Linked DNA regions of Homo sapiens: all the other regions are linked to region 1. Evidence: promoter capture Hi-C in human tissues and cell types (Jung and others, 2019). All regions are on one chromosome and are shown on one strand. Each heading gives the region's core, a stretch centred on a gene start or on the middle of the fragment in contact. The rest is flanking DNA. Distances are from core to core; before and after follow the strand shown.

Region 1 (3,797 bases), core at 819-3,318:
CCAGCTGAAGGGCAAAGGTAGCCAAAACGAGTATACAACTTCAGGTTCTCCCTGCAGTAAACTGGGGTTTCCTGCTGGGTGTTTGGATGAGTGCAGAGCAGGAACCTCCAAGCAGAAGGACCTCACTCCTGGGTTCATCCACCTCTCCCTCGCAGATCACACCAGGATCCTGTGGACTGATAATTTTTGCTTCCTATTTAATTATTTCCATTCCACCTCCTGCCTCGCCCTGGCCCCACACCACCGTGCTAAGAATAGCAAAGATTTCCTTCCAGCACACACAGGTGATGGGACCCCTGAATCCCCAACTCTTACTTCTGGCCCCAGCTCAGACATCGCCATCCCAGAGAAACCTCATCTTGTCCAACTCACTCGCTCCAGGAAAGTGTGGTGGAGCCTCCATTCGCCAAGCCCTTTAGTGCCTATTCTATTAATTTCTTGGTTACTGTTCGTCTCACCCTCTATACCGCGATGGTGGAGCTCGGATACTGTCTCCTGTCTCCCTGCACCTGGTGCCTCACATGCAGTTGGCGCGCAATAAAACTGAGATGAATTTGGCATTTGGTGAAAACACCCCATGCTTTCTTCCCCATGAGTTTTTCCCTCCAGCCCTCTAATCATCGGGGTTTCTTGCAGAGAAGAGGCCTTGAGGACACGATACTCTGAACTTGACCCAGAGTGTCTAGCCCAGGAAAAAGGGTTTGTAAGGAGAGAGAAGCTCACAGCGAGTAGATGAAAACAGGGAAGGGTAAAAGGAAGGGGGCGGAAGAGGGAGATGCCAGAGAGAAGAGAAGCAAGAAGGCAGTGTCCTGTTCCCCCTCCACCGTGCTTGGTGGCCCGGGTGGGGCGCAGCTGCGGGAAATGCACCCGGAGCTGTGCCCCCTCCCGGCGAACAGCCTGCGCCACCCGCCGCACCGGGAGGTGGCTGGGGGCTGCCGAGCGAGTGGTGAACGCGATGGGTGGAGAGCGCCCGAAACGAGGTGGAAAAGGGGGCGGGGGCGAGGCACGGCGCCTTCTTGCCCCTTCTTCAGCTACAGACGCGGCGGCGGCGGCTGAGTCCCTCAGCCTCGGTCATGTGATAGTCTCGAAGCGCTAGCTGCGGGGGTCTCGGCGTCTCGGGGACCATTACAAAACGCAGCCAGGAGAGCGCGTCGCTGCCACTGCCGTCGCCTCTCCTCCTCAAGACAAGCCCGGGAGAAAGGCGGCAGCTGCGGCGCGGACGGCTGAGCCTCCCCGGCCAGCACTCACCCAGCATTCGCAGACGCCCTCTCCAGCCCGCCGCTCGCTCCCAGAGTCCTGCGCCCCACACTCCTCAGCAGAACCTGCGGGCGCTGCCGCTTCAGAAACCACCAAAGTTTTTTCTCCTCAGCGACAGCCTAGGGCTGCGCGTCTCTTCTAACCCCGGCGACGCTGCGAGCCTCGGAGAAAAGAGAGGCGCCCTAGAAGCCAATCTTCTCTCTCCTTACCCTGATTTTTCACTCCAGGAAAAGGAGAACTCCAGCGCGGTCTGGCTAAGTGCCTGGCCAGGGGCCTGCGTCCAGGGCACTGGAAGTCCTGCTGTCACTGGCCTCCAGGACAGCAGGCGCAAACTCAGATTTAAAGGGCCAGAGTCTCTACTGCCCAGACCTTCCTCCCAGCCATCTTGGTCTGGGTTTCCCTCGGACCTAGAAAAAGCAAAGAGGCCGGGAGGAAACACGGCCCCTTGCCACTCTCCTCTGCAGCCAGCTCCAGCACTCAGTCTTTGGCCACCCGGGGGAAGACGCAGAGAAGGCGGCGGTAAACCTGGTGCACTCCGCCCGCGACTGTGCGCGCCAGTCGGCAACCGTCGGGGCCAGAAGTTGCCAGCTTCCGAGAGCTGAGTAGGCCCGAAAGGCCAAGGTCGGAGACACCAGGCAATTCGGAGAAGGCAGGAGAGAGAAGCAGAGAGGGCCTGGAGGGCGAGAGGGCAAAGTGGCGGGACTGGAGGGGCCGAGTGGGAATTAGTGGGGGCAGCCAGGCCCCAGGAACGGAGTGCGGAGAGATTCTGTGGTCCAGTGCGGGCCGGAGGGCGGTGGAGGAGCCGGGGGCGATGCCGCGGCCGGGGAAGAGCTCGTACAGCGACCAAAAACCGCCCTACTCTTACATCTCGCTGACCGCCATGGCAATCCAGCACTCGGCCGAGAAGATGCTGCCGCTGAGCGACATCTACAAGTTCATCATGGAGCGCTTCCCCTACTACCGCGAGCACACACAGCGCTGGCAGAACAGCCTGCGCCACAACCTCTCCTTCAACGACTGCTTCATCAAGATTCCGCGGAGGCCCGACCAGCCTGGCAAGGGTAGCTTCTGGGCGCTGCACCCCGACTGCGGGGACATGTTCGAGAACGGCAGCTTCCTGCGGCGTCGCAAGCGCTTCAAGGTGCTGCGCGCCGACCATACTCACTTGCACGCGGGAAGCACCAAGAGCGCGCCGGGCGCCGGTCCGGGAGGGCACCTTCACCCCCATCACCACCACCACCCCCACCACCACCATCATCACCACGCTGCCGCACACCACCACCATCACCACCACCCACCCCAGCCGCCGCCGCCGCCGCCCCCGCCGCCGCCGCACATGGTACACTATTTCCATCAGCAACCGCCTACTGCTCCGCAGCCGCCTCCGCACCTCCCGTCACAGCCCCCGCAGCAACCGCCCCAGCAGTCGCAGCCTCAGCAGCCGTCTCACCCCGGCAAGATGCAGGAGGCGGCGGCCGTGGCGGCGGCGGCGGCGGCGGCCGCGGCAGCCGCGGTGGGCAGCGTGGGACGCCTGTCTCAGTTCCCACCCTACGGGCTGGGCTCGGCCGCCGCCGCTGCCGCCGCGGCCGCGGCGTCCACGTCAGGCTTCAAGCACCCCTTTGCCATTGAGAACATTATTGGCCGGGACTACAAGGGCGTGCTGCAGGCTGGAGGGCTGCCCTTGGCGTCCGTCATGCACCACCTGGGCTACCCCGTGCCCGGCCAGCTTGGCAACGTCGTCAGCTCCGTGTGGCCGCACGTTGGCGTCATGGATTCGGTGGCCGCCGCCGCGGCCGCCGCAGCCGCAGCCGGAGTCCCTGTAGGCCCGGAGTATGGGGCCTTCGGGGTCCCGGTCAAGTCCCTGTGCCACTCGGCAAGCCAGAGCCTGCCTGCCATGCCGGTGCCCATCAAGCCCACGCCTGCGCTGCCGCCCGTGTCCGCGCTGCAGCCGGGGCTCACTGTCCCCGCGGCTTCGCAGCAGCCTCCGGCGCCATCCACCGTGTGCTCCGCGGCCGCGGCCTCGCCCGTTGCCTCTCTGCTGGAGCCCACAGCCCCTACCTCGGCCGAAAGCAAGGGCGGCTCCTTGCACTCGGTGCTAGTGCACTCCTAGGGGACCCGGCGGGCGTGGGGAGACCAGCGGGGTGAGAGACGCCGGGCCCGGAACCGCCCAAACCACCCGACGGGGAGAGGGCGCCCTGGTCAGGCCGGGCAGAGCTGGCGAGTCTCAGCCTTTGCTGGAACGGAAGGTATTTAAATAGACGAACAACCCCGAAAAGTGGATTCTCCAGTGGTCTGAATAAATATAACCTTCCTGGTGTCTGTGTTTATACTATGTTGTACAATCAGATTAATGAAAGCCAATTTTCAGGTAAGAGTTTCTATTGTAATTAATATAAATCCATAAGTTATGGGGGGAGGGAACGAAGGAGGTTAGGAAAGCCTCATTCGCTGGTAAATTGGAAGTCGATTCTGACCCTTATTCCTGGGAGCAGAAGCTGGCAGAGCTAAACCTCCCGCGAAGAATCCAACAGAGAGTGACG
Region 2 (3,877 bases), core at 521-3,020, 96 kb after region 1:
TTAACCCTATACAAATTAGTTAGGCAGAAGGAATAAGATCTAGTGTTCAGTAGCACAGTAGGGTCATTAAAGTTACAATAATTTATTGTATACTTCAAAATAACTAGAAGAGAAGATTTGGAATGTTCCCAACACAAAGAAATGATAAATGTTTGAGGTGATGGATATCTCAATTACCTGTATTTGATCATTACACATTGTATGATTGTATCAAAATACCATATGTACCCCGTAACTAAATACAACTATTATGTGTCCATACAAATTAAAAGTTAAAAACACATTAAAAATACTTAACCCTAATATAATTTTGTGAGGATATAATTTAACAAATCTAAATGATGTGACATTCTACAAGACAACTGCTCTGAGCTCCTCAAAAATATCAGTAACATGAAAGTAAAAAAAAACCAGAGGCTTATTGTACTGGATTTCAACAAGCTTGAAGAAACATGGCAACTAAATAATCCTCTGCATAATCCTTGATTGTACTCTGGATTTTAAAACAAATCTATACAAATACATGATTTGAGTAATTGGTGGAATTTGAATATTAATTACATTTTGGATAATATTATTGTGTCTGCTGGGCACAGTGGCTCACACCTGTAATCTCAACACTTTGAGAAGCTGAGGAGGATTACTTGAACCCAGGAGTTTGAGACCAGCCTGGGCAACATAGTGAGACCTCACCTCTATAAAAAAAAATTATCTGGGAACGATGGCATGCACCTGTGGTCCTAGCTACTCCAGAGGCTGGGATGGGAGATGGGAGGATCGCTTGAACCTGGGCAGTTGAGGCTGTAGTGAGCCATAATTGCAGCATTGCATTCCAGCCTGGGTGACACAGCAAGATCCTGTCTCATAAAAAAAAAAGAAAAAAAAAGAATATTATTGTGTCAATCTTAAGTATCTTGGGAGTGATAATGGCATTGCGACTGTGAAGAATACATACTGAAGAATTTAAAGGTGAAGCATCATGATATCAGCAAGTTACTTTCAAATGATTCAGCACAACAGAGAGGGCAGAGGCACAAATGTGGCACAATGTTAACAACTGATGAATAAGGGTATGGAGGCATTGTGGTTGTATGTTGCTGCATACCAAACTACCCCAAAGGTTAGTGGCTTAAAAAAAAACTCATTATATTTTACCATTTTATGGATCAGGAATTTGGGAGGACTTTCACTGGATGATGGTTCTGCTCTAAGTGGCATTACCTACAGTCACTTGGTGACTGGCTATTCACACAGCTGATGGACAACTGGTTCAGAGAATCCAAAACATGCCTGGTGCTTTGGTGGAGATGGCTGGATTGAGCTTTCCCTCTCTGGGTAGTCTTGGGGTCTCTCATCAGCCTCTTCACCAGGGTAGTGGAACTTAACATGGAGGCTCAGGGCTTCAGGAAACCCCCTAAAAAAGCCAGTCTTCTTGAGAGCTAGGTCCAGAACTGTCACAGAGTTCTGAGTTAGATTTCAGAGCAATCTAAAATCTTCTGCCATTTTAGATTGCTCAAGAAGTCACAGTAGTTCAGATCCAAGAAAAAAAAGGGACCCCACATCTCAATGAGAAGAGTGTAAAATAACTTATGACCATCTCTACTCCACCACAATAGGTTTCTATAGTTTTGAACGTTTTCAGAATGAGGGGTGGGGGAAGTTTTAATTAGTGTGTTTGGCATTGTTTTGCAAGTATATCCGTACCCTAAACTCCTAATTGTTTTTTATTTTGATAGTTCCGAGTTCCTCTCCAAAAAGTATATACCAGTTTGCCTAGCAAAAGTGCATGGGAGTCACTGTGTTCTTCATTATTCGAAATAGTTTTAAAGTATACCTATACTGTGACATATCCCTCATCAAAAAGTGGAGTCTAATTCTTCTTCCATTCATTGTGGGCCACACTTAGTAGCTTCTAATGAATAGGATACGGTGGGAGTGATGATGTGTGATTTGCAAGGTGAGATCCTAAAACGAGGTCCAGCTTCCCCCTGAATCCTTGTCTGTTGGGACATGCACTTTGGGAGCCCTGAACTGACAGCTAAGAACCCTGGCTACTAGAGTGGCCAACTTTTTTGAGGGCCAACGTGGACACAACTATACTGAATTTAAAAAAAAAACCCAAATGTAATAATCTAATATGTAATGAATAAGTATACTCAAATGTGTTATTACTTTAACATAAAATATGAAAAATGGTATTTATTTGAAATTATATGTTCTGTACTACTTACTTTTATGTTAAATAAATGCTATTATTTAAACAAAACAACAATAAGCCTAGATAGCAGTGGCGGTTAGAAGTGATTAATAGCAGGATTAAATAAGCAATATGTGTGAGAAAATATAGCAATATTTTTTGATGTTTCTGTCTTCTGATACAGCAATTTATTTGAACTCTTTTTAAATGCTTTATTGGACTTTTTAATATTTCAGGTTATATTTTTATAAATTCTTTTTTTTTTTTTTTTTTGAGATGGAATCTTGCTCTGTCTCTCAGGCTGGAGTGCAGTGGCATGGTCTCTGCTCACTGCAACCTCCACCTTCTGGGTTCAAGCGAGTCTCCTGCCTCAGCCTCCCACGTAGCTGGGATTACATGCTTGAGTCACCATGCCTAGCTAATTTTTGTATTTTTAGTAGAAATAGGGTTTCCCCATGTTGGCCAGGTTGGTCTCAAATTCCTGACCTCAGGTGATCCGCCTGCCTCAGCCTCCCAAAGTGCTGGGATTACAGGAGTGAGCCACCACGCCTGGTCCTTTTTTTTTCTTTTATGTAGTACTAAAACTGAATACAGGCAAAAGTAAGATTCAGTTTGACTTGCAGTTCTGCTTTTATCAAACCCATATTACACTGATTCCTGGTGTCAGGTCAATGTGATGTCAATTAAGCTAGCTATCCTCTCAACAAAAATGCCTATGTTCCTTTGCACATGAAATACTCAGGATATTACTTACTGGCAACAGCAGAATTTGGACCTGTGGTGCTCTAAAAATGCCCGTCTGTTCTGTATCCACAGGCTTGTTCTGGTACACCAGCTCATCATTAAGCAGGTGCTTTGCATCTATAACTTCATCGTTATAGGCTATCCATGTCTAAAATGTCCATGATTTTCAAACACTCACATTAAATGTCATGATTAATTAAGTCTCTCTCAGGGAAAATTTTTGAACTTGTAAAATTGAAAGTAGATTTGACATCAACCTAAAAAGCGTTTACACGGCAAAGGAAACAATCAACAAAATGAAAAGGTAACCTGCCAAATGGGAGAAAATATTTGAAAACCATATATCTGACAAGGGGTTAATGTAAAAAAATATATCAGGAGGCCGGGTGCAGTGGCTAATGCCTGTAATCCCAACACTTGGGAGGCCAAGGCGGGCAGATCACCTGAGGTCAGGACTTCCAGACCAGCCTGACCAACAAGGTGAAACCCCGTCTCTACTAAAAATACAAAAATTAACCAGTCGTGGTGGCGGGCGCCTGTAATCCCAGCTACTTGGGAGGTTGAGGCAGGAGAATCACTTGAACCCAGGAGGCAGAGGATGCAGCGAGCCAAAATCATGCCATTGCATTCCAGCCTGGGCAACAAGAGCAAAACTCCATCTAAATAAAATAAAATAAAATAAAATAAAATAAAATAAAATAAATATATCAGGATAGCACACAATTCAATAGCAAAAAAACCCAAATAACACAATTTAAAAATGGTCAAATGACTTGAATAGACATTTTTCCACAGAAGATATACAAACGGCCAACAGGTATATGAAAGGGTACTCGACATCACTAATCATCAGGGAAATGCAAATCAAAACCATAACAGGTTATCACCTCACACCTGTTAGGATGGCTAGTATCAAATATAAAAGAGATAAGTGTT
Region 3 (3,916 bases), core at 931-3,430, 110 kb before region 1:
TCATGAAGCCCAAATGCAACAATATATGCAAAGTGCCCAATTCTTGGCCAGTTGCTGCCGTTATTCTGATTCCCAAGAGTCTGTTAAGGAGAGGAGAAACTTCATGCAATAGCTGTAAGTGGAAGAAAGAAAATCCATGAAGAGAACCCAACAAGAGGAAAATCTCCAGGTCAATTGTGGATGGAACAGCAGTCACTAAAAATGTGACATGATTTAATTATAACTTGTGTCTATTCTACACCAAGTAATATCTCCCAAGGTTATATTCCTTTGCAACCTGGGCTTCATATGATAAGAGGCCTGTTTCAGAGAAAGGCACTGCAGATGTTTCTCAGCAATAACACATCTACCTGTACTACTCACTAGTGAAATATAACTTGCTTAGGGGTTGTATCCCCAAATTACCATTCCTTACCCCCATGGGGCACTAGATCTTTCCTCTGTAGACTCTCACAGGAGCACTGTAGCTCTTCATCCATCTCATGGCACACCTATTACTGTCAGTGCCACCACAGGGGTATCTGAAGATTTCCTTATCTTAACCAGCTTCCCTGGTGCTCACAGCATGGTATCAGAAAATCTGGATATGAGACCTTGCTGTGTACTTTTGGGCAAGTTATTTATTATTAATCTCCTTATCTATGAAATAGAAGATAAATACCTGCCCTAGTTACTTTACATGATTGTCATTAAAGAATCAAATGCTAACATCCCTACAAATACTGGGAAATGTTAACAAGGGAAAACAGAATACTGAAGAAATCAGCTTGGTTGGCAAAAAAAAAAAAAAAAAAATACCTGACATATGCTATCCTTTTAAAAATGAAATGTAGCTGGGATGGCAGCTGCTGATTCACTATTTGGGCACATTTCCAAGCTAGCTTCCTCACTGACCAACAACACCTCTCACAGGTAGATTCTCCTTGGTGCAGATGGGTTATGTTCGCTGCTTTTAAATTGTTTCATGTGACACAAGAGGTTCAAGAAACTGCATCTCACACTTGAACTAAATTTAAAAGCATTTTAAGCTTATTTCAAGGACAAGAGATAGAAACAGGACTAATGTGCATTAACTAGGGCCTCTCATTTAGCCTGTAAGCAACTGTTAAATGTCTGTTTTTTTGTCCTGTGGGTGGTCAGATACTATCCATGTTAGCAAATAATATTAAGAGGAATTAACTATTTTTTTTATTTTGTGGTTTAGCAAGAATATCCAAATTTTTTAAGGTAAGCTTTGCAAGACTTTTTTTAAAAGGAGTCCATATAGCCATTGTCTTCTCTGAGTTTCTGTAAAGAAAGGAAAAAGAGGAGTGATTGAGATTGTCAGAGCTGTATTAGCAAGTGGCAGGGCCCAGACCACTTGGGAGAATGTCCTGAGAGTCAAATGCTCAGGCTTTGAACGGGGTACATACAACTTGCGTCATTTCTGGGAACCACAGACATCTTGAAGAGCAATGAATTTAATTTGAAAGGACAGTGGAGGAGAGAGGAAGTACTCCGGCTCTGTGAGTCATCAGAATAATAAGGCAGTGGCTGCCACTTTCAGGTCTGTTGCCTGTGGAAAGATGTAGATAGGGCCTTAAAGTCCCAGCTTCCTCTCACACTATACATTCAGGTGGCTTCAGTTTTATACACGCTCTTCCTGCAGAAAGGTATCTCAAGTACCTTCAAAACAACGCTGGCTCTCTCAGTTACAGTATAAACTTTAACTCATGATCCCATCCTGCATTTCCACTGAGGAAGTATTTGGCAAGGAAAGTAGAATGTTAATAATTTCCACACCCTGAGAGTCGACCAACATGATCTCTCATCCTTGCAATAATGCTGTAAGGCCAGAACAATGGGAACTGCAACCAACCTATTCTAGAGCTGAAGAAACAGGCCCAAAATTGTTTACTGACATGCCTGAAGATTGAAATCTAGACTCTGTATTCCAAAGTTCAGGCCTTTTTCATCAAAAAGGCTAATGTTTATGAAGAGTTTCTTTGCATGAAATATCACTTTAATTTTTTATGTGTATTAATAGCATTTAGTCCTCATAACAAATGTATAAATCAGGTACTATTATCCTCATTTTAAAGATGTGCAAACTGAGGTACAAAGATGCAATTTTCACAAAATTACTCAGGTAGTAAGTAGCCAAAGCAGGTGACCAGGTCCAGAGCCCAGGTACTAAGCGACTGCACATCACTGCCTGTCCACTGGCATGGGCTACCCAGCTGCTCACCCAAAAAAGCAAATGTGGAGACTGGAGAAGAAATGAGTACTCACCACATGGCACTTTCAATTGCTCTGCCACAGTTAAGAATGAGCTGGTCACCCCTTCACCTACCTCTTCACCCCTTCACCTACTTGGCCACATAGACCTCATACCTGATGTTTGCAGATGAGTCAGAGAAATCACCAGCAAGAAAGAGGTAAATGTCCCAGAAGCTTGATCAGCACACATCATTAAAAGCTCCTGTCATCAATGATGGCTCAGCTAAATCATTGCTTCTTTCCCATCAGGTTCTCCTTTACCCAGCCCCCGTCCTCATCTCTCCCCTCATCATTCTTGAACCTCACCCCTTCCCAAAAAGTGGAACACTATTATGTTCTGATGGTTAAATGCTTGAGTTTTAGTCCTTTGGATAGTGATGTTAGTCCTTTGGATAGTGATTTTAGCATCTCCAGGTCTTAGGGTCCTAGGAGAAACAGAAGGCTTGAGTGGATGTTTCCAACCTTAACATTCTATGATTACAAAATGGAATCATACAATTCTTAGATCCACAAGAAACATGAAAGTGTACAAGAGAAATTGTCTTATTTTTGTTAAAAAGTCTTTGAATATCTTTGTAGCATTAGATGTTTGTGTAGAACAGAGGGATTATGTTAAGATGGCATAAAAATATCCACCTGTAAAAAAAAGTAATCAAGTATTTTAAGGAACTTCAACTCAAAGGTCAGTAATTAAGACATGTAGACATGTAAATAACAAGCCTGGAAAGAGAAAAATTAGCAAGATTTGTTAGAGGTATGTGTTTTCTTAGGTATCAAATCCTAATGTCCTCAGAGAAATTTTCTATTCATGACAGGAAGCCTGGAACCAAAAAAAAAAAAAAAAAGAAAGAAAGAAAGACTCAAATTTCAGGCTAAAGGATGCTGTTCAATTGTTGTCTAACAAAGGCCATTGATCTCTCTTCTTATATAGTGGCAATATTTCACTTAGAAAAAACTGAATTCAGTATGTAATGTATTTTCAATAATATTGTGTAGAAAGCAGTAAAATAAAAAACTGGATATTTAAAAATGTCCAACAAACTGTCGATTTCAATGAGGGCAAAAATTATTTGCTCTGCATTTTCCTTCTCTAAATCTCTGCATTATAAAACCACTGAAGTTCCAGAGGAAAAGGAAGAAGGAAATCCAAATCCATTAACGCAGAGCCGCAGTGTCCACCTACAGCATTTGCTTCTTTGCTGTATTTTCTTTAAACTGGGCAGCAAAGCAAAGGACCTGCTTCCCAGCAAACATCTCCGTCATACTCTCATTGACCTACTCCCTGGAGACACCACCTGCAATTCATCACTCTTGGGAAATGCTGCCACCCAATTTCTTCTGTTTCTGTCAAGGATTCATTCACATTAATATTCCACTAGACTTAGCTCAGAAAGTTGTTAGAAACCGATACTACCTCTTCTGGATTCCAGATTCCTTCTACTATGTGCCCCCCGCACCCCACCCCCACCTCCTTCACCCTGTCACCTTCCTTTCTGTGAATGAAGGGGAAAAAAAATCCTAAAAACGGTTTTAAAATATGGAGTCAGCAGTTGGGGAAGGGCTGGACTATTACCACTCCAATACTGCTATAACAGCCTCATTTTCATGTTAGTTTATTTAATAATAAACTTCTATAGATTCACTTTTCCCAGTAGTT

The links. The method cuts DNA at HindIII sites, captures the fragments that hold promoters and counts their contacts. A contact is called where the count stands out against the background at its distance.
Region 2: a fragment that was not itself captured here is called in contact with the fragment with the promoter of FOXB2 in region 1 in 3 of the 25 tissues and cell types used here (H1 embryonic stem cells, bladder and lymphoblastoid cells).
Region 3: a fragment that was not itself captured here is called in contact with the fragment with the promoter of FOXB2 in region 1 in 3 of the 25 tissues and cell types used here (IMR-90 fibroblasts, mesenchymal stem cells and spleen).

What each region holds. Positions count from the first base shown.
Region 1 is chr9:77,017,587-77,021,383 of GRCh38, forward strand. It overlaps FOXB2 (forkhead box B2), which reads left to right and starts at 2,069. Exons shown (of 1, transcript NM_001013735.1): 1 at 2,069-3,367. The coding sequence starts at 2,069. The coding sequence ends at 3,367. The HindIII fragment of the contact is 6,747 bases long and covers 1-3,797 here.
Region 2 is chr9:77,113,747-77,117,623 of GRCh38, forward strand. No RefSeq gene overlaps it. Among named protein-coding and RNA genes, the nearest start is that of VPS13A, 62 kb to the right of the region's middle. The HindIII fragment of the contact is 7,528 bases long and covers 1-3,877 here.
Region 3 is chr9:76,911,304-76,915,219 of GRCh38, forward strand. No RefSeq gene overlaps it. Among named protein-coding and RNA genes, the nearest start is that of PRUNE2, 7.1 kb to the left of the region's middle. The HindIII fragment of the contact is 3,388 bases long and covers 487-3,874 here.